Linked DNA regions of Homo sapiens: regions 1, 2 and 4 are each linked to region 3. Evidence: promoter capture Hi-C in human tissues and cell types (Jung and others, 2019). All regions are on one chromosome and are shown on one strand. The core of a region is centred on a gene start or on the middle of the fragment in contact, and the rest is flanking DNA. Distances in the headings are between cores, read along the strand shown. Region 1 holds the start of BSG (basigin (Ok blood group)). Region 2 holds the start of HCN2 (hyperpolarization activated cyclic nucleotide gated potassium and sodium channel 2). Region 3 holds the start of R3HDM4 (R3H domain containing 4). Region 4 holds the start of CDC34 (cell division cycle 34, ubiquitin conjugating enzyme).

The links. The method cuts DNA at HindIII sites, captures the fragments that hold promoters and counts their contacts. A contact is called where the count stands out against the background at its distance.
Region 1: the fragment with the promoter of BSG here is called in contact with the fragment with the promoter of R3HDM4 in region 3 in 4 of the 25 tissues and cell types used here (dorsolateral prefrontal cortex, heart right ventricle, mesenchymal stem cells and 1 more).
Region 2: a contact is called between the fragment with the promoter of HCN2 here and the fragment with the promoter of R3HDM4 in region 3, in 2 of the 25 tissues and cell types used here (IMR-90 fibroblasts and dorsolateral prefrontal cortex).
Region 4: a contact is called between the fragment with the promoter of CDC34 here and the fragment with the promoter of R3HDM4 in region 3, in 1 of the 25 tissues and cell types used here (small bowel).

Annotation. Positions count from the first base shown.
Region 1 is chr19:569,049-574,452 of GRCh38, forward strand. It overlaps BSG (basigin (Ok blood group)), which reads left to right and starts at 3,548. Exons shown (of 9, transcript NM_001728.4): 1 at 3,548-3,653. The coding sequence starts at 3,587. It overlaps BSG-AS1 (BSG antisense RNA 1), which reads right to left and starts at 3,200. Exons shown (of 3, transcript NR_184018.1): 1 at 3,061-3,200; 2 at 2,392-2,548. RefSeq lists enhancers at 1,796-2,368, 2,449-2,498 and silencers at 3,319-3,538, 3,709-3,888. The HindIII fragment of the contact is 13,063 bases long and covers 1-5,404 here.
Region 2 is chr19:588,631-594,291 of GRCh38, forward strand. HCN2 (hyperpolarization activated cyclic nucleotide gated potassium and sodium channel 2) reads left to right here and starts at 1,251. Exons shown (of 8, transcript NM_001194.4): 1 at 1,251-1,947. The coding sequence starts at 1,316. It also overlaps the pseudogene LOC100420586. RefSeq lists an enhancer at 1-20. The HindIII fragment of the contact is 14,322 bases long and covers 1-5,661 here.
Region 3 is chr19:911,927-916,872 of GRCh38, forward strand. It overlaps R3HDM4 (R3H domain containing 4), which reads right to left and starts at 1,293. Exons shown (of 8, transcript NM_138774.4): 1 at 1,161-1,293. The coding sequence starts at 1,231. RefSeq lists a silencer at 1,111-1,450. The HindIII fragment of the contact is 36,901 bases long and covers 1-4,946 here.
Region 4 is chr19:529,918-534,892 of GRCh38, forward strand. It overlaps CDC34 (cell division cycle 34, ubiquitin conjugating enzyme), which reads left to right and starts at 1,843. Exons shown (of 5, transcript NM_004359.2): 1 at 1,843-2,191. The coding sequence starts at 2,015. RefSeq lists silencers at 1,348-2,087, 2,508-2,677 and enhancers at 1,884-2,540, 2,938-2,987, 3,058-3,217, 4,200-4,776, 4,777-4,975. The HindIII fragment of the contact is 13,520 bases long and covers 1-4,975 here.

The DNA of each region.
Region 1 (5,404 bases), core at 2,298-4,797, 340 kb before region 3:
GGCTGGAGCGCAGTGGTGCGATCTCGGCTCACTGCAAGCTCCGCCTCCTGGGTTGAGGCCATTCTCCTGCCTCAGGCTCCCGAGTAGCTGGGACTACAGGCGCCCCCACCACGCCCGGCTAATTTTTTTGTATTTTAGTAGAGATGGGGTTTCACCGTGTTAGCCAGGATGGTCTGGATCTCCTGACCTCATGATCCGCCCACCTCAGCCTCCCAAAGTGCTGGGATTACAGGCGTGAGCCGGCAGCTGCATATTTTCTTATCTGTTTATTAAGTCTGTTTAAGAATTCCACGGGCCTGGCCAGGCGCGGTGGCTCACGCCTGTAATCCCAGCACTTTGGGAGGCCGACGTGGGCAGATCACAAGGTCAGGAGATCGAGACCATCTTGGCCAACATGGTGAAACCCTGTCTCCACTAAAATACAAAAAATTAGCCAGGCGTGGTGGCGGGCGCCTGTAATCCCAGCTACTTGGGAGGCTGAGGCAGGAGAATCGCTTGAACCCGGGAGGCGGAGGTTGGAGTGAGCTGAGATCGCGCCACTGAACTCCAGCCTGGGCGACAGAGCGAGACTCTGTCTCCAAAAAAAACCCCATGGGCCCTTCATGTTTCCTCTGTTGTACGTTAAATGCTCGGGAAGTATTTTGGGTTTGCAGATCTGATTCCCGAATCCTTGTAATTATCCCATCTCCGAGATCGCTCATGTTTTTTAGGTCACATTGTCATCCCACCCAGGATCTTGGGCCAGGAATTTACGCTCCGCTGAAAGGACGTTCTGACCGGGGGGTGTTCACGCTCCCAGACTAACACAGCGGCCTGTGAATCATGGTTCTCTCTCTCCTGAGACGAGAGTACTGAGGGTAGACATTAATTCAGCCCAAGCGTACAGCTGTGGCCCCAGAAATTGGTCAATTTGATCCGCGAATCCAAAAGGGTCATCTAACAGTGGTTTGAGTTCTTTTAGATTTCTAACCTCTGAACTGGTTAAAGGGGGCATTTACGAAGTCAATATCCCTTCCTCCCGGTGGTCCTTCCCTAAAGGGGAAAAGGGCTGAGGCAGGTCTTTTTGAGCAGGAGGCAAAAGGAAAGTTCTGTGGGTTTTTGTTTGTTTGTTTGTTTTTTGAGACGGAGTCTCGCTCTTGTTGCCGAGGCTGGAGTGCGGTGGCGCGATCTCGGCTCACTGCAAGCTCCACCTCCCGGGTTCAAGACATTCCCTGCCTCAGCCTCCCGAGTAGCTGAGTAGCTGGAATTACAGGCGCCCGCCACCACGTCCGGCTAATTTTCGTATTTTTAGTAGAGGCGAGGTTTCATCATCGTGGCCAGGCTGCCAGTCCTGAACTCCTGGCCTCGTGATCCACCCGCCTCTGCCTCCCAAAGTGCTGGAATTACAGGCGTGAGCCACCGCGCCCGGCCGAAAGTTTCGAATATCCCTTTGGCATTGTTCTGTTTCCCGTTGGAGCTTTCCTGAGGAAGGGGCATGTTCTAGTGGCTGTCCAGCGGGGATGTGGGTGGCAAGGTCCAGGTGGTTCTATAGGGGAGGGATGGAGGGGCGGAGGAGCGGGTGGGGGAGGGGCGGAGGGGCGAGGGGTGGGTGGGAGGGGCGGAGGGGCGGGTTGGGGAGGGGCGGAGGGGTGGGGTGGGTGGGTGGGGGGGGCGGAGGGGTGGGTTGGGAGGGGCGGAGGGGGTGGGTTGGGAGGGGCGGAGGGGGTGGGTTGGGAGGGGCGGAGGGGGTGGGTTGGGAGGGGCGGAGGGGGTGGGTTGGGAGGGGCGGAGGGGTGAGTGGGGGAAGGTGGTCTAGAGGATCCCACCCTTCTTTAGATATGGGGCGTCTCTGCTAAAAATACAAAAATTAGCCGGGCGTGGTGGTGCGCGCCTGTAATCCCAGCTACTCAGGAGGCTGAGGCAGGAGAATCGCTTGAACCCGGGAGGCGGAGGTTGCAGAGAGTCGAGATCGCGCCGCTGCACTCCAGCCTGGGTGACACAGCGAGACTCCAACACACACACACACAAAAGATATGGCGCGTCTCATTCATTCACAAGTTCCTCTTCAAAGGTTTGGCTCGTTCAGCGCCCTCGTTCTTCGTTTCCTACTTCCAAGGCCAACCTGACTTCCTCACCCTCTGGGCCTCCCCGTCTGAGTCTCAGTAAACAAGTTTCCCGCCGGTCCTGATCTGCAGAGATGGCACCTGCCACCCACTCTGCACATCCCCCTCCCGTCGCCACGGGCTCTTCCCGCCAGTGTAGCCACATTCCTGCCCCTTTCCAGTTAGCCCTTCGCGTTCGGCTTAGTCTGCGGTCCTCTTGCATTGCGACTCCGAGTTTAACTTCCAACACACACTTTCAACCTCCAAGAGACGCCCCCACCTGTGTCGCCCCAATAGCGACTTTTCTCACCGTGGTCGCCGCGGAACTTCAAGGGTCCTTCCTACCCGCGTTGCTGAGAGTCTGGGTTTACGCGTCACCTCGGGCGGGACCCGATCCTCCGCTCCTGAGGCCCCCACAATGAAGCAGTCGGACGCGTCTCCCCAAGAAAGGTAACCGCCAGCCTCTCCTGAAACAGAATGGGATCCAAATGGGATATTTGGGGGCGGCGAGTCGGTCCCGCAAAGAGAAACCAGCACTTAGAAAATTTCTCAGCGAGACCACTTTACTTGTACGGAAGGGGGCTGCCTGCGTGGGATGCAATCTCCAGAGCACACGGGACAAAGGAAGGGAGCTTCTGTTCCTCTGTCCTTTCCCTGTTGGCTGGGGTTGGACGCCCACAATCTAAGCTGATCCCGGTTGGCTAAAACTTAAAACTTTTTTAAAATAGGGTAAACGCGCCACCTGCGAGGAAAGAAGAAGGGGGTAAGGTTGATTGACAACTTTAGACCTGGAAGTTGAGTTTCTGAAGAGGAACTTACTTGTCCCAACCAAATGGTGCACAGGACGTTTATACTAAGAAATTATTCATTTTCTGAGATCCAGATTCAAGTGCCCTTTAAGTATTTTTATTTGGGCGGAGGAGGTCACTTCCTCCCACCTAATTTATTAATACGTTCATATATATATATATATATGTACATTTTTAAAGGCAGAGATGTGCGTCTCGCCATGTTGCCGCGTCTGGTCTCGAGCTCCCGGGCTCAAGCGATCTTCCCGCCTCGACCTCCCAAGGCTCTGGGAGTACAGACGTGAGCCACAGCGGCCGGCCCGTGTTTAACTCAGATAAAATCTGGGTAACACACTTTCAACGCTTCAACCCCCTCGGGCGCACCGCTCTGCGCTCATTGCAACTTTGAAAGCAGGAAGGAAGAAATGCGCAGGCTCCAGCCGCGTCCCCGCAGGCCCCACTCCCGTTTCCTAGCAACGCCGGGTCACGTGCGCCGCCGCCCGGATTCCGTAGCGTGAGCCTGCCGGAGCCGGCGCGTACATGCGAGCGTGTGCGCGCGTGCGCAGGCGGGGCGACCGGCGTCCCCGGCGCTCGCCCCGCCCCCGAGATGACGCCGTGCGTGCGCGCGCCCGGTCCGCGCCTCCGCCGCTTTTTATAGCGGCCGCGGGCGGCGGCGGCAGCGGTTGGAGGTTGTAGGACCGGCGAGGAATAGGAATCATGGCGGCTGCGCTGTTCGTGCTGCTGGGATTCGCGCTGCTGGGCACCCACGGAGCCTCCGGGGCTGGTGAGGAGCGGGTAGGGGGCGGGGGTGCGGTCCTGCAGGGGCCGGGAATGGAGGCCGCGGTGCCGACCCGAAGCCGACGGGAGCCTGGGGCCTCGGCGCGGGGCGGCCTGGGGTGCGAAAGGCCGGCCCCGGGGGCTTCCCGCGCCAGCATGGAGCTTGGGGGTGAAGTCCCAGGGTTTGAGGGGGGACTAGAGGTTCCTCCCGGCGCGGCCTGCCGGGCTCCCCCGGGCGCTCCGGCCTCGAGCCCGGCCTCTGTGTGTGGGCGTGAAGCTCCCTGCTTGGAGGCGGGAGCCAGGGGGTCCTGGCCAGGCCGGTCTTGGTCAGGGGAGGTGGGCGTCTTGCTTTTCGGTCACCTGGGGTTGGGGGTGACCTGCTTCCTGGGTGAGGGCGTCTGCGAAGGCGGTTGGAGGTGGCCCGCCCGCCGGTCCCATCGGCCAGGAGAAGGGAGACCCAAAGCCTGGGTGAGCGTCCCCTTTGGCCTGGAGCCAGGGGTCAGGGGCTGGTTGGTGCCTGCCCAACCCGTCCTGCTGGGGCTGGACTCCGCAGGACCTGGGGAAAGCGGCCTGGGCGTGGAATCTGGAGACGGGTCCACCCTGCCTGCGAGTGTTAGGGTCAGAGACCCTCCCCTGAGACTCTCTGGGGCCCCCGCAAGGGCCCGTGCGGCCTGGAGCGATCATCTTGGCGCTCCCTTCTGGAAAAGGGGCTTTTGTCCTCCAAGAGCACATGGAGGCTCTGAGTGGGTCAGCCCTCCGGATCGGGAAGGGATTACCGTTCTTCACGGGATTTAGCCCTGGCGTCTTGCCTAGGGCGTGCACCTGCCCCCGGGTGTTCTCCCAGACTCTTAAGACCTCGCAGGCTCCCTCGAGGGGCCCTGCGTGGAAGGGAAGGCGGAATCTCCCTCTGATTCTGCCTGGATTCAGCACCCAGAATGAGGTGGTCTCTGAACGCCCCTCCTCCTTTACAGGCGAGGAAACAGCCCTGTGGGAAGTCGAGGTTCCAAGGTCACAGTGAGGGGGCCCTGGCCACCCGATTCAGCGCAGGAAATAGTGAGAAAGTCGTTTTTAGCCGACTCTGACCCGCATTCGGTTTCCAGTGCTGTCTTAGGAGGGCCGTGTGTTGAGGGTGGGCAAACGTGGTTTGGAGAGCGCATTTGGGAAATGGATTGAGGTGTGTTTTTCCGGGAGAAAAGCATGACATCCTTTCTTGCTTCATAGAAAATTTCTTCCTTTGTTGAGACCCCCATTTGGTTCTGGGTTAAAGATTTATAGTGAGGCCGGGCGTGGTGGCTCACACCTGTAATCCCAGCACTTTGGGAGGCTGAGGCGGGTGGATCACCTGAGGTCAGGAGTTCAAGACCAGCCTGGCCAACATGGTGAAACCCCATCTCTACTAAAAATACAAAAATTAGCTGGGCGTGTTGGCGCACGCCTGTAATCCCAGCCACTCAGGAAGCTGAGGCAAGAGAATCGCTTGAACCTGGGAGGTGAAGGTTGCAGTGAGCTGATATCATGCCACTGCACTCCAGCCTGGGTAACAGGGAGACTCTGTCTTTAAAAAAAAAAAAAAAAGAGGTCGGGCATGGTGGCTCACGCCTGTAATCCCAGCACTTTGGGAGGCCGAGGCGGGCGGATCACGAGGTCAAGAGATCAAGACCATCGTGGCTAACACGGTGAAACCCCGTCTCTACTAAAAATACAAAAAATTAGCCTGGCGTGGTGGCGGGCGCCTGTAGTCCCAGCTGCTAGGGAGTC
Region 2 (5,661 bases), core at 1-2,500, 320 kb before region 3:
CCATCCACTGTCAGCCGGGCACATGCTGGCCCTCCCTCAAGTACCACTGAGTGCCTCCTGGGTGTAGGAAGAGGGCCATCTCTGCCCCGGTGGCCTCGAGGTGCAGATGGGTGGGGGGCACCCGGCACACGGGACATCGTGGCTGAGAGGACGTCAGGCCAGGTGCCAGGAGGGTCCCAGGAGGGCCTCCTGCCTCCAGGTGGGGATGTTCAGCCTCCACTTCTTCGAGTGTGACTGTCTGTCTCCTCTCTCTCACTTGCCAGCTTCCTCACCTGCCCCCTCCCGGCTGTCTGGTGGGCTGGGTGGCTAGGGACAGAGGCCTCATGTCACCTGGCACCAAGCAGCACCCACGCCCAGCCGGCTTCGGCCCAGAAGCAGAGCCTTGGGAAGCACCTGTCTCAGAGCTGGGGACTGGAGGCACTGGGGGCACAGCTGCACCCGGAGTCCGAGGGGTCGGGGAAAGGAGGCAACCCCGGGGCAGGGGGCTCTGGTACCCGTGCGAAGGCGCTAGTGGGCTTTGGGTCTCCCTGTGACCCCAATCTAAAGCCCACCAGACCTAGAGGAGACCCCCGCCGCACGGCTCCCCAGGGCACTGTTTGAGGGGTGGGTGGGAACCCCACACCCTCGGGTGGCTTTTCCAGTTTTCCTTGTCTGGCTGGGCTTGGCCTCAGTTTCCTCAAATGCAGACCAGGGAGAGGAGTGCCTGAGTCTCCCAGAACGGCGCCCAAGCCGGCCTGCCCCTCCCCACGCACTCAAGGGTCTCTGTCCAGGGCCCACAGGCGACCCAGCAAGGGCTCCTGTGACCTTTAGAAACACCCTTTCGTCGTGGAAGTCTTCAAACCTCACAGAAAGCAAGGAGGCGCTGGCCGTGGCGGCCTCTCCCGTCTCCCAGGCCCGCGTCCACCCTCCCCGCGCCGGTGCCCTCCGGACAGAGGTGGAAGCCGCGGCGCAGGAGAGGCGGCTCCGGCCGGGCAGCGGGGCCCGGTGACCTTGGGCGCGTCCTTACACGTCGCGGGCCTCAGTTTCCCCTCCTGGGGAGAGGCCCGCGCGGGGCTCCGAGGCCTCGGGCCGCGTGACCTTGGGGCGCCCCCGACCCCGCGGCCCGAGTTTCCCGGCGCCGAGCGGAGGCGGCGCGCGGGGAGGGGGCGCAGCCGAGGCGGGTCTCCCGCCCCCGCCCCTCCCCCGCCCCTCCCCCGCCGCGAGGCTCCGCCCCCCGCGGCTCCGCCCCGCCCCGCCCCCGCCTCCCCCCTCCCTCGGGCTCCGGCCGGCGGCGGCGGCGGCGGCTCCGCTCCGCACTGCCCGGCGCCGCCTCGCCATGGACGCGCGCGGGGGCGGCGGGCGGCCCGGGGAGAGCCCGGGCGCGACCCCCGCGCCGGGGCCGCCGCCGCCGCCGCCGCCCGCGCCCCCCCAACAGCAGCCGCCGCCGCCGCCGCCGCCCGCGCCCCCCCCGGGCCCCGGGCCCGCGCCCCCCCAGCACCCGCCCCGGGCCGAGGCGTTGCCCCCGGAGGCGGCGGATGAGGGCGGCCCGCGGGGCCGGCTCCGCAGCCGCGACAGCTCGTGCGGCCGCCCCGGCACCCCGGGCGCGGCGAGCACGGCCAAGGGCAGCCCGAACGGCGAGTGCGGGCGCGGCGAGCCGCAGTGCAGCCCCGCGGGGCCCGAGGGCCCGGCGCGGGGGCCCAAGGTGTCGTTCTCGTGCCGCGGGGCGGCCTCGGGGCCCGCGCCGGGGCCGGGGCCGGCGGAGGAGGCGGGCAGCGAGGAGGCGGGCCCGGCGGGGGAGCCGCGCGGCAGCCAGGCCAGCTTCATGCAGCGCCAGTTCGGCGCGCTCCTGCAGCCGGGCGTCAACAAGTTCTCGCTGCGGATGTTCGGCAGCCAGAAGGCCGTGGAGCGCGAGCAGGAGCGCGTCAAGTCGGCGGGGGCCTGGATCATCCACCCGTACAGCGACTTCAGGTACCGCCTCCGGGAGGGCCGGTCGGCGCGAGGGGGCCCGGGGAGCCGGGCGCGCGGGGAGCCGTCCTTGGAGCGCCTGGGGAGGGCGGGGCGGCGCGCCGGGCCGGTGACCTCGGGGCTCCTCGGTGACCTCGGGCGTGTCCGGGACCCGCCCCGGAGTGACCCCGGCGCGCGAGGCTCCGCCTCTGGGGGGGCTCCCCGGGTGACCGCGGAGCGCCCCCCTCCCACGCACCCCGACATCCTCCGCCCTGCGGCGCGGCGGGTGGGGTGGGCCGCAGGGCCAGGGTCTGAGCGCAGAGGGGCAGAGAGGACGAATAGAGGGGAACGTGGGCCCCAGAGAGGCGGCGGAGCGGGAGGGAGGAGGAACGAAGGGCGCCCGGGAAGGACGCGCCCCAGGGAGGCCGGGGGAGAGGGGGTTAAGCGGCTCCCACGGCGTCCACCCGCGCCCCGCCTGCGAGGAGGCGCGCCCGGGGCCGCGGGCCTGGAAAGCGTGCGGGTCCCCAGGCTGTGTCCCCGGGAGCCGCTCCACCCGAGCCGCGGGCGGTGCGCGCATGCGGCGGTGGGTGTGTAGACGCCGCTGTGGATCCAGCCGGCTAATGCGTGGAAGGCTCGGAGCAGGGCCGGCGCGGGGCCACCGCCACTGATGTTTGCGGTCGTGGTTCCTGGGCTGTGCGTGCTGTGGCCGGAGAGCGAGACCGGCGCGTGTCCCCGTGGGCTGTGTGTGAACAGGGGCCCGTGACCGCGGCGGGGTTCCCGGGGCGCGAGCCTGTGGCCGGAGAGGTGTGTCTCCAGGAGTGTGTTTGCGTGGTGGTCGCGGGCGTGTGCGCCTCCGGTGGGTTTATTTTGGTGGGACGTGTGGTTTGTGTGTGTTGGGACCAGGTGGCGGGCGTGCGCGTGTACGCCCGGGGCCGGTGTGCACCGGTGGGCAGTAGTGTGAGCCGCAGGCAGGTCTCACACACGCGACCATGGAGGGATGCGTGTGTGTTTGTGTATCCACGAGTGGGGTGTGAGGTGGGGTGTGGAGGGTGCAGGTGGAGGGTGTAGGTGGGGCCCGCCGGGCTAGCGAGGCCGGGCGCGCGGGACGGGCGCGGTTTCAGCACCACGGACAGCGCGCCGGACCTGGGAAGCCTGCGGTTTTCCCGCCTGTCTCTCCTCCTCCAGGCCTGGGCGCCCCAGGACAGCCCCCACGGACCCTGGACCCCCGGAACTGGGCAGGGAGGCTGTGGGGTTCTCTCTTCCCCTGGATTCTCTGCACCCCTAGTGCTTGACTGGAGAAACTGAGGCCTGGGGCACATGCGTCCTGGACAGAGCCTGGAGGAAGGCCCTGGAATCCTCCTCCCACCCCAGGCCTTCCTGAGAGGTGAATACAGCTTTGACCAGAAGCCTGGATTTCGAGACAGGCCAGGGGTGGGAGGAGCCCCGAAATCCCCAGAGGGGCTGTGTCCGGCCCCTCCCACCCTGCCTCTGTGCCCCACCGGGAGAGCTTGGTCAGCATCTGGGCTCTGGCCTGCGAAATGTGGACAGTGAGCGGGAAGGACTGGACTTCCAGGGCTGCTGGTCGGCCTGGCCCCACTTCCAGTCGGGCAGTGGCACCCCCTGACCGGAGAGGGACGCGGTGGAGAGGGAGCTGTAGAACGTGCCCACTCCCCTCCGTCCCCTCCAGCATGACCTTCGACAGAGATGGGTGCACCGCAGCGTGGGGGCTGGCAGGTGGAGGCCCACACCAGCCACTCCCTCCCCTGGGCAGCTCCAGCGACCCCCTGGCTGCAGAGGGGCGGTCGGTGGCCTGGGGGGCAGGTGGGCAGATGGCTGATCCCGGGGCTTGGGGGGAAGGCCGGTGGTAGGAGTGAAGCCCTCTCATCCTTCCACCCTCCTTGGGCGTGGTCGCCTGGAGGCCTGGGCAGGCTGTGGCCCCGCTCTGTGCTCTGAGGCATAGAGGGCTCAGAGGCCCCTGTGTGGACCAAGTGCAGCCCCACCCCGGCAGATGAGTGTTGAAGTGGAACTGAGCAGGCAGGGAATGGGGTTAGCGGGGCCTGTCTTCGGGACTAGGGGAGTCACGGCAGTCAGATTTTAAAAAAGGATTTCGATGTTGCCAAGCTGGGTGCACGGGGCCCCTAGGACCCTCCCCAGGCTTGGGACCTGTGCCAGTGTGGAATCAGTGTGGAAAAAGACCCCCAAGAATATCTCAAAAGCTCCCTAAGCAGGCGGCCGGACCCTGCTGTGGAGGGTGTTTTGGGGCAGCCCACAGCAAGCGAAGGGGCCTCTACGTTTGCAGCTGACTCAGGAGCCTGGCCCCAACTGGCTTCGGGCCCAAGGCCTCCTGTGCCTGGCTGGGTGTCTTGGGTCCTCGCTGGGCCCCTCTGCCTCAGTTTCCCCAATTGCACGGTGGGGATGGTATGAGGGAGAAGGATGGGGTCTTTCACAGCCTTGCCAGTGTCTCAGCCTCACGTCTCACACTCTCTTCACCTCCCCTTCCTGCTGAGAGAGTGCTGTGCTCCTTGCCCAGCCTGTGCCCCCCAGGCACGCCCTCACCCCGGTTCTTCCTCGCTGCCCAGCTGTCTCCGCCACGCCCAAGTCCACCCTGCTCCCGTGCTCGGAAGTGGCCTCTTTCACGCCCCACGTCCCAGTCCCAGTATACAGCAGGTGCCACATATTTGCTGAATTTTCTGAGGGGCAGAGCATGGGTCCTGGGCTGACGTGGGTCCAGATTTCGGCTCTCAGGCCTGGGCGGCTGGCCCCTTTGGAAGTGCAGTTGGTGCCAGGGTGCAGCGGCTCACGCCTGAGATCCCAGCACTTTGGGAGGCTGAGGCGGGCGGATCACCTGAGGTCAGGAGTTCGAGAGCAGCCTGGCCAACATGGTGAGATGATCCCGTCTCTACTAAAAATGCAAAAATTAGCTGGGCATCGTGACGAGCGCCTGTAATCCCAGCTACTCGGGAGGCTGAGGCAGGAGAATCACTTGAATCCAGGAGGCAGAGGTTGCAGTGAGCCGAGATCGCGCTGCTGCACTCCAGCCTGGCTGACAGAGTGGGACTTGGTCTCAAAAAAAAAGAAAAGGAAGAAGAAGTGCAGTTGGTCTATTGCTGAAGTCTCTGGGGCTGTGGGTGGCTCTACACCCCGGCCTGACGTCTGAAAGTCCCCAGAGGCATGCTGGGCGCTTCCCTGGGGTGCTGGTGGAAGAGCAAGTTCAAGGACCCAAGTTCAAGGTTTTGGGTTCCAGAGGCTCAAGTTCCCTTCCTTGTAGGTGATCACGGTTGGTGCCTGAATTGGAACAGGCGTGAAAACCAAGAAGGAAGGGGTTTGGCCTTATGCAACCCCCAGGGCTTCGGCAGGGTCTTCTGTGCCTCCCAGAGCAAAATTAGGTCAAAAATAAGTATAGTTCATTCCTACTCCCTTCACCCCAGCCGCCGCTGATTCTAAAGGCCACACAGGTCCACTTGGGAAAGCCTGAGTCGTGCAAAGGAGGGTGTCTCCGCAGGAGAGGGGCAGGGGCTGGAGGTCTCTGCACGAGAAGGGCTGGGGCTGGAGGGTGTCTCCGCAGGAGAGGGGCTGGGGCTGGAGGGGACACGAAGGCCCAGGGAGGGGCGGTCTGAGGAGGTCGCGTTCTCCGAAGCTTGCTGTCATCCACCCTCCCTGCCCCCGGTGTCACCGAGGGGGCTGGGCAGACCTGGCGGGGTGGAGACCTGGGCAGATCCGGGGTTTGTGCCCTGGGAG
Region 3 (4,946 bases), core at 43-2,542:
CGAGTGGGGCCGGGCGTGCGGCAGGGACCAGGCTGGAGCGCATGGCCACGTGGGTGAACCCCGACCCGCGGACAGGGGCCCAGGACCCTCTGGCGGGAGGCTCCATGGCTGGCACCTCGGGGCCCGGGGAGTGGGGGGGCAGACCCGGGAGTGGGGGCGCGGCCCCGGGGAGGTGGGGGGGGGGGTGGACCAGGGAGTTGGGGGGCGGACTGGGGAGGTGGGGGGACGGACCCGGGAGTGTGGGGGGCGGACCAGGGAGTTGGGGGACTGACCGGGGAGTGGGGGGACAGACCCGGGAGTGGGGGCGCGGCCCCGGGGAGGTGGGGGGGGTGGACCAGGGAGTTGGGGGGCGGACTGGGGAGTGGGGGGACAGACCCGGGAGTCGGGGCGTGGGCCAGGGCAGTGGGGGGGTCGGACAGAGGAGTTGGGGGGCGGGCCCGGGAGTGGGGGCGCGGACCCGGGAGTGGGGGCGAAGACCAGAGAGTAGGGGCACGGACCAGGGAGTTGGGGGGTGGAACCGAGGAGTTGGGGGGCTGACCCGAGGAGTTGCGGGGCGGACCCAGGAATGGGGGCAAGAACCAGGGGAGTGGGGGGGTGGAGCAGGGAGTGGGGGGACGGACCCAGGAGTGGGGGCGTGGATCAGGGCAGTGGGGGGGCGCGGACCCGGGAGTGGGGGGAGTCGGACCCGGGAAGTGGGGGCGCGGACCGGAGAGTGGGGGCACGGACCGAGGAGTTGGGGGGCGGACCCGGAGAGTGAGGGGGTGGACCCGGGAATGGAGGCGCGGACCAGTGCAGTGGGGGGGCGGACCGGGGAGTGGGGCGCGGACCGGGGATTAGGGGGCGGACCGGGGAGTAGGGGGCGGAACAGGTAAATGGGGACGTGGATCCGGGTCCCCTCCCCCAGCGAGCCCCCGGAGCGCCAGGAGGGTGTCCCCGCTGAGTAACAATGAAGACCCCCCACCCAGCCTGGGGGTCCACAGCGGGCGAGAAGGGAAGGCAGGACAGGCTGAAGCCCCGGAAGATGAGCAACGGGAGCGAGGGGAACGAAGGGAACGAGGGGAGGGAAGGGAAAGGAGGGGAGGGGAGGCGGGGAGAGGATCTCAGGGGAGGGAGCCCAGCCCGCCCCCGGCGCCCGCCGCGCCCCGCCCGCCCGCGCTCACAGCAGCCGCCGCCCGCCCGGGGTGCCCTCCGCCGCCTCCGGGCCGCACTCGGGGTTCTCCAGCGCGACCATGGCTCGCACGCTGTCGCCGCCGCCGCCGCCCGGCAGGGCCTTCACCGGGCCGGGCAGGAAGTGACGGGCGCCCGGAGGCGGGCAGGGGCGGGGCCTGGGGCTGCGCGGCGGGGCGGGGGCGCCCACCTCCCGGCTGCCGGGAACGAACGCGGAAACCCAGGCGCGCGGGGAGGGGATCCAGCCCCTGGGGGGACGAACGGGGAAACCGAGGCGCGCGGGGCGGGGATCCAGCCAACAGGGAACGAACGGGGAAACCGAGGCAGGCGGGGCCGGGATCCAGCCATCAGGGAACGAACGGGGAAACCGAGGCAGGCGGGGCCGGGATCCAGCCCCTGGGGGGACGAACGGGGAGACTGAGGCGGGAGGCGGGGCCGGCCACGATCCCTACACCCAGAAATCTAGCTCCGGGAAGGAGGGACACCTAGGCGAGGGGTCGAAAACTCAACCACAACCCTGCGTCCCGATCCGGGCTGCGGACTGAGCCAGGAATCCAGCCCAGGGAGGCGAGGAGACACGGACAGGGAAACTAAGGCCTGAGCATCGACGAGGGAGGGGACGTTCTTCTTGGAGGCAGAGGATGGCGGAAATTAAAACTGCCCGAGCCTTCCTTCCACCTGCCCCTCCCAGCCCTGGAGCCTCGGCTAGGCAACCCCTTCCCCTGCTTAGCCTCAGTTTACTCTTCTCTAAAATTAGGCCTGGTGGCCAACGTGGTGGCTCACGCCTGTAATCCCAGCACTTTGGGAAGCCAAGGCCAGTGGATCACTTGAGTCCAGGTGTCTGAGACTAGCTTGGGCAACATGATGAAAACCCATCTCTAAAATAAAAAGAAAGGGCCGGGCGCGGTGGCTCACACCTGTAATCCCAGCACTTTGGGAGGCCGAGGTGGGCGGATCACGAGGACAGGAGATCGAGACCATCCTGGCTAACACAGTGAAACCCCCTCTCTACTAAAAATACAAAAAATTAGCCGGGCGTGGTGGCGGGGGCCTGTAGTCCCAGCTACTCGGGAGGCTGAGGCAGGAGAATGGCGTGAACCCGGGAGGCGGAGCTTGCAGTGAGCCGAGATCGTGCCACTGCACTCCAGTCTGGGCGAGGAGCGAGACTCCATCTCAAAAAAATAAAATAAAATAAAATAAAGCAAGAGGGAGGCTGGGCACGGTGGCTCGCACCTGTAATACCAGCACTTTGAGAGGCCAAGGCCAGTGGATCACTTGAGGTCAGGAGTTTGAGACCAGCCTGGCCAACATGGCAAAACCCTATCTCTACTAAAACTACAAAAATTAGCCGGGCGTGGTGGTATGCACCCATAGTCCCAGCTACATGGGAGGCTGAGGCACAAGAATCGCTTGAACATGGGAGGCAAAAGTTGCAGGGAGCCGTCCACTTCACTCCAGCCTGGGCCACAGAGTAAGACTACTCTGTCTCAAAAAAAAAAAAAAAAAAAAAAAAAATAGCCAGGCACAGTGGCTCACGCCTGTAATCCCAGCACTCTGGGAGGCCGAGGCGGGTGGATCATGAGGTCAGGAGATTGTGACCATCCTGGCTAACACGGTGAAACCCCATCTCTACCAAAAATACAAAAAATTAGCCGGGCATGGTGGCAGGCGCCTGTAGTTCCTGCTACTCAGGAGGCTGAGGCAGGAGAATGGAGTGAACCCAGGAGGCAGAGCTTGCAGTGAGCCGAGATTGTGCCATTGCACTCCAGCCTGGGCGACAGAGCGAGATGCTGTCTCAAAAAAAAAAAGCAAGAAAGAAAGAAAAAGAAAGAAAGAGTAAGGAGGAAAAAGAAAAGGATGAGAAACTGTGGATGGACTCAAAAAAGCGTGCACTGTGAGATTCCTGTAGATAAATGTGCAAAGAGGTGAAAAAGGACAATGGAGAGATGTATCAGGAGTGACTGGCAGGGGAGCTGGGCATCGGGAATGAGTGGTTTCCCCATCCATCAGGCACAGGGTAAGGGTAGATGCTCAAAGAATGGACCTGAACATTTATTCGTGAGAGAGGGAGGCAACTCCAGAGAACTTCCTGGGCCTTCCTCCCATTCTGGGTTCCAGGGCTTCCCTTCAGGGGCCTGGGCCTGTCCTGTCTGTACCTTCTTCTTCTTCTTCTTCTTCTTTTTTTTTTTTGAGAGAGTCTCGCTCTGTCACCCAGCCTACAGTGATGCAATCTCAGGTCATTGCAACCTCCACCTCCTGGGCTCAAGTGATTCTCCTGCCTCAGCCTCCCAAGTAGCTGGGATTACAGGCACCCTCCACCAAGCCCGGGTAATTTCTGTATTTTTAGTAGAGACCAGGTTTCACCACGTTGGCCAGGCTGGTCTGGAACTCCTGACCTCAAGTGATCCACCTGCCTCGGCCTCCCAATGTGCTGGGATTACAGGCATGAGCCACTGTGCCCGGCCTATTCATTTTTTTTCCTCCCTTTTTTGTCTTTTTTTATGCAAATGGAAGCACCTTTTTCTTCGCTGTGTATTACTCCATGATGACCAAATGTCTTGGACTCTGTTGCAGGATGGACTTTGGGGGAACCTCCTGGATGTCATCCTGGGGTACACTTCCAGCTGTGGGATTATGGAGTCAAGGTTGTGCTGACCAGGCTGGGTGGCTCATGCTTGTCATCCCAGCACTTTGGGAGGCTGAGGCAGGAGGACTGCTTGAGCTCAGGAGTTCAAGACAAGCCTGGGCAACCTAGTGAGATCTTGTCTCTACAAAAAAATTTAAGGGGGGAGGGGGGAGGGATAGCCTTAGGAGATATACCTAATGCTAAATGACGAGTTAATGGGTGCAGCACACCAGCATGGCACATGTATACATATGTAACTAACCTGCACATTGTGCACATGTACCCTAAAACTTAAAGTATAATAATAATAAAATAAAATAATAAATAAAATTAAAAAAAAAACTTTATTTGCAAAAAAATAAAAAATAAAAAATTTAAAAATAAATTAGCTGGACCGGGAGCAGTGGCTCACGCCTGTAATCCCAGCACGTTGGGAGGCCGAGGAGGGTGGATCACCTGAGGTCAGGAGTTCGAGACCAGCCTGGCCAACGTGGTGAAACCTGGTCTCTACTAAAAATACAAAAATTACCCGGGCATGGTGGCAGGCACCTGTAATCCCAGCTACTCGGGAGGCTGAGGCAGGAGAATTGCTTGAACCCGGGAGGCGGAGGTTGCTTTGAGCCGAGATCATGCCACTGCACTCCAGCCTAGGCAACAGAGCGACACCCTGTCTCAATAATGATAATAAAAGGCCGGGCGCGGTGGCTGACGCCTCTAATCCACCACTTTGGGAGGCCGAGGAGGGTGGATCACGAGGTCAGGAGATCAAGACCATCCTGGCTAACACGGTGAAACCCTGACTCTACTAAAAGTACAAAAAATTAGCCGGGCGAGGTGGCGGGCGCCTGTAGTCCCAGCTACTAGGGAGGCTGAGGCAGGAGAATGGCGTGAACCAGGGAGGCGGAGCTTGCAGTGAGCCGAGATGGAGCCACTGCACTCCAGCCTGGGCGACCTGAGCGAAACTCTGTCTCAAAAAAATAAATAAATACATAAATCAGTAATAATAATAATAATAATGAGGCTGTGGCGTTTGCAAGGTGCCCTCCACCTGGTTCCCGCTGCTAGTGTCCCTGCGGGTATCAGACACCCCTTGTCAGTCATGTGGGACACATTCAGTCCCAAACCACCAGATCGGGGACGTCCCTCACCTGCC
Region 4 (4,975 bases), core at 593-3,092, 380 kb before region 3:
CAGAGTGGCCCTGGTCCCAGACTGGTTTTTGTTTTTGGTTTTTTTTTTTTTTGAGACGGAGTCTCTGTCGCCCAGGCTGGAGCGCAGTGGCGCTATCTAGACTCACTGCAAGCTCCGCCTCCCGGGCTCACGCCATTCTCCTGCCTCAGCCTCCCGAGTAGCTGGGACTACGGGCGCCCGCCACCACGCCCAGATAATTTTTTGTATTTTTAGTAGAGACGGGGTTTCACCATATTAGCCACAATGGTCTCGATCTCCTGACATTGTGATCCGCCCGCCTCGGCCCCCCAAAGTGTTGGGATCACAGGCGTGAGCCACCGTGCCCGGCCTGTATGTTGATGCAGCTGTGTGTACCCAGGGCATAGCAACAATGCCACTGGCACAGTCCGAGGGCAGGGCCACCCGTCACGGGCACGACTCAGGGGAGGCTGGGCTGCCCCGTCCTCACCACGGCCAGTTCTCCCGACCAAGCTTCACAGCAAGGAGCATGTGGGTGTCTGGGCAGCCACTGAGCCAGGTCAGAAGTCAGGTGGGGTCACAGTGATGCCCGGAATCAGCTGGGGTCAAGACTCAGGTGGGCTGGGCGCGGTGGCTCATGCCTATAATCCCAGCATTTGGGAGGCCGACGCAGACGGATCCCTTTATTAGTCCAAACTGCATCCTCCCCTTCCTTTCAAAACCTAACAACACACTTGAGGTCAGGGGTTCGAGACCAGCCTGGCCAACATGGTGAAACCCCATCTCTACTTAAAATACAAAATTAGCCGGACGTGGTGGCGGGCACCTGTAATCTCAGCTACTCGGGAGGCTGAGGCGGACACTAGCTTGAACCCGGGAGGCGGAGGTTGCAGTGAGATTGTGCCACTGCACTCCAGCCTGGGCCACAGAACGAGACTCTGTCTCATTTAAAAAAAAAAAAAAAAAAAAGACTCGGGTAGGACAAAGGTCAGGCTGGGAGGAGGGCACAGCCAGGCTCGGGCTCAGCTTGGGGTGGGGGCTCCGTGGGGCTGGCGCCTCTCCCGGGTCAGGTGCTGAGCCGATGCTGGCCGGCGTAGGCCTCTTTCCCAGTTTCTCTGGGGGGCAGGAGCACCTTGCCAACCTCTGATGGCTCCAGCGCCTGCACTCGCCTCACACCACATGGTGACTTCAACGGGGACCAGGGAAGCCCTCGCCCCTCCCACCCCTCAGAGCCCTCCCCGACCTCGCCCACTTCTCAGAGCTCCCGCTGTCGGGGGAACCGAGGCAGCGCCGCGCCTGGAAGCCAGGTCTGCGGATCCCGCCTCGCTCCCGCCCCTTCCTCCCTTCCGCGTGGCCAGCGCGACCCTAGGACAGACTTCGCGCCCGTCCCCTGCACAGACGGGGAAACGGAGACGGGGACGCGGGGTCGCGCCGGATGGACCGGCCCTGCCCCTCCGGTCCCGGTCAGGACCCCGCGCCGCGCCCCGTTCACCGCCCGCGGCCCCGCCCCGCGCCGGCACGTCACAAAACAACCCCAAAGCCGGGGGACCGGGCCGGTGACGGCGCAGAGCAGCCCTGCCCGCCTCCTTGCGCACAGCGTCCGCGGTGCTGGTCGAGCAGGGGGCGACGGCGGCGGCCTCGGGGATCGGAAGAGCCCGGGGCTGCGCGCTCGAACCCTCCCTCCCGGCGGAGGCGCTCGGCGCCGTAGGCGGGACCGGGGCCGGGACTCCACCTCCCGGCGTCCCCTGCGGCCGGGCGCGCAGGCGCAAGTCGGACCTGGCCGCGGAGCGCAGGCGCAGTCGGGGCCAGGCGGTGCGCGCAGGCGCAGCGGGGGGCGGGGCGCGCGGGCCCGGCCAAGGCAAGCGCCGGTGGGGCGGCGGCGCCAGAGCTGCTGGAGCGCTCGGGGTCCCCGGGCGGCGGCGGCGGCGCAGAGGAGGAGGCAGGCGGCGGCCCCGGTGGCTCCCCCCCGGACGGTGCGCGGCCCGGCCCGTCTCGCGAACTCGCGGTGGTCGCGCGGCCCCGCGCTGCTCCGACCCCGGGCCCCTCCGCCGCCGCCATGGCTCGGCCGCTAGTGCCCAGCTCGCAGAAGGCGCTGCTGCTGGAGCTCAAGGGGCTGCAGGAAGAGCCGGTCGAGGGATTCCGCGTGACACTGGTGGACGAGGGCGATCTATACAACTGGGAGGTGGCCATCTTCGGGCCCCCCAACACCTACTACGAGGGCGGCTACTTCAAGGTGAGCGCGGCGACCCCCGCCCGGGTCCCGGAGCCCACGAGCGACCTCGGGCGCCGGGAACCAGCTCCCTGCCCCGCGGTCCTAGCGCTGTTGCTGGGCGGGCCCCGAAGCCTCCTGGCTTGGGCTCGTTTCCCTTCTATGGCCACGTTCCCCCACCCAGCTCTGCCCGGCCCCCTCCTCGGACCGTCTCGGGGACCTTCAGCCTCTGCTGCAGTCCTCGAAAATCCCCAGTTCCCTTCAAGGCATCGTCCGGTCCCCTGTTAGGCTCTTGGCCCCCGGAGGGGTGGCCGGGGGCCCTCCCTGTAGCATCTGGGCGTGGGGCTCTTGCCCACCTCCTCCTTGGCGGGGGCTGGACCCCGGCTGCCTCCCCCTCCGCCCCTGCGAGAAAGAGGGAGCGGAGCCCAGGCCGCGCCGGCCTTTCAGCTGCCCTCCCCGCCCTCCCCGGAGGAGACAAAGAGGCCCCCCCAGACCCCGTAGCTGCTATTGTTGGGGAGCTGGGCCCGTGAGCGGGGGAGCGAGGCCAGCCTGGGGGTGGCTGGCGCGGCCACTCGCTCAGTCTCCAACAAAGGCCCGGATGAGCCTTGGCAGCCAGGACCCGCCTGGAAAGCGGCCACCCTTGCCAGTAGCAGCCGGCCAGGCGCCCTGGGCTCCATCCCCTGCTTTATGTAACCTGCGCCCTCGGGAAGGCCGAAGTAGGGGCGTGCCTCCCACCTGCTCCCTGCAGCTCTCTCCAGGCCTCCCGGCTCGGGCCCGCGTCCCGGACCCCGACCTCAGAAGCTCCGGGCTCGCTCATCCCAGCTGGTCTTGGCCTTTCTCAGAGTCCACTGAACAGGTGGCTTCTTGGGACCCAAACCCCGAGTTCTGGGCCGTTTCTTCTGCCCTCTGGCGGTTTAATTCCAAGCAGTTTCTGGATGTTTTTGTTGTTGTTGGGAGCGGGGAGGCTGTTTCTGTCTCATGTGAAAAGGACTCAGGCCAAAACCAGGGCAGTTTTCTTGATCTCACGATCCAGACGTGACCTTTGACTTCTTTTAGCGTTCAGGGACCTCGTTCTTGGGGCCAGAGGGACAAAGCGAGGGGCCCTGTGTGAGCGGTGGGGAACGAGCACCCTGTCCAGGAATCTCCCCCTCCCACCGTCACTTCCTGCCAAGAGCCTGGACACGACACGACACTGCAGGGCCCGGCCCGCTCTGCCCCGGCCAGCTGCGGGCGTGGGGCCGAGGGACCGATGCCTCCCGCACGATATGTGTCTGCTCTCCGAGCTAATTAGTGTCTGAACCGCACCCGCTCAGCGGCTGTGAGGGCAGCAGCCTGGTCTGCTGGGGGCGATTCCTGAGCAGAGAGTGGGACGCCCGTGGGTTCTGCATCTGGAATCCTGCGTCCCCACACAGGGAACAGAGTTTGGGTCTCGAGGTTGCCAAATGGTTTTAGCAGCTCCTCCGCCAGCCCCTTCTGTCTGCTTGGGGGAGCAGCTGGCTGAGGAGCCGCAGCCCCACCTCGAAGCCAGGCCTGTGAGGCGGCTGCTGTTCTGGAAGGAGGGGATGGGGGTTTCTGGCTGCTGTGCCCACCAGACCGGTTGCCAGGGATTGTGGGCAGAGCTTCCTGGGCCAGCATTAGGGGATAATCCGGTTTTCCGGATTTCCCAGGGAGGGGGCCTCTAGACATCTGCCACAGGGTCAGTCCTCAGAAGCCAGTGTTGAGACGGGGGTGCTGCCACCCACGAGGACTCTCCCTTCCCGCTGTGCCTGGGAGGGAGTTGGGGGAGCGTGGAAATACAGAACCTGCTGAGTGCCCAGGGCCGCTGCTGCCCAGCCACTGCCTGCAGCTGCTGTTCCTTCAGGAGCCAAAGTGAGCCCTGGGGCAGGGGCCGCCAGAGAGAGCCCTCCACAGCCGACTTGCTGTCTGCCCTTGGCAGGGCGCTTTCCTTTTCTGAGCCTGGGTTTGCTCCGGGGAAAAGACATTCTTAGAGGTGCCCAAAATAAGAGGCTCATTGGGACTTGGTGGGGTTTGGTACAGATGAGGCCTTGGCTGTTGTCAAGGATTGCCGCCTGAAACCCAGCACCAGGCTTGGGGGGCCTGAAGTCTTGGGGAACCGCAGGACAGTTCTGAGACTGAAGTTCCAGCCTTGCTCTGTGGCCGCGGCCAAGTCACTTGCCTTACGGGGCACCAGTGAGTTCCCTGTCAAACAGAGGACACCCCCCAAGACACCCCGCGTGCCCTCCCTGTCCAGGAGGGGCCCGTCCACGATCCAAGACCCCCAAAGTGCCCTGCCTGTCCGGGAGGGGCCTCGCCCACAATCCAAGACCCCCGAGTACCCTCCCTGTCCAGACCTCGCCCACGATCCAAGACCCCCTGAGTGCCCTCCCTGTCCAGACCTCACCCACGATCCAAGACCCCCTGAGTGCCCTCCCTGTCCAGACCTCGCCCACAATCCAAGACCCCCGAGTACCCTCCCTGTCAAGGCCTCGCCCACGATCCAAGACCCCCGAGTGCCCGCCCTGTCCAGACCTCGCCCACGATCCAAGACCCCCGAGTGCCCTCCCTGTCCAGACCTCGCCCACGATCCAAGACCCCCGAGTGCCCTCCCTGTCCAGACCTCGCCCACGATCCAAGACCCCCGAGTGCCCTCCCTGTCCAGACCTCGCCCACGATCCAAGACCCCCGAGTGCCCTCCCTGTCCAGACCTCGCCCATGATCCAAGACCCCCGAGTGCCCTCCCTGTCCAGACCTCGCCCACGATCCAAGACCCCCTGAGTGCCCTCCCTGTCCAGACCTCGCCCACGATCC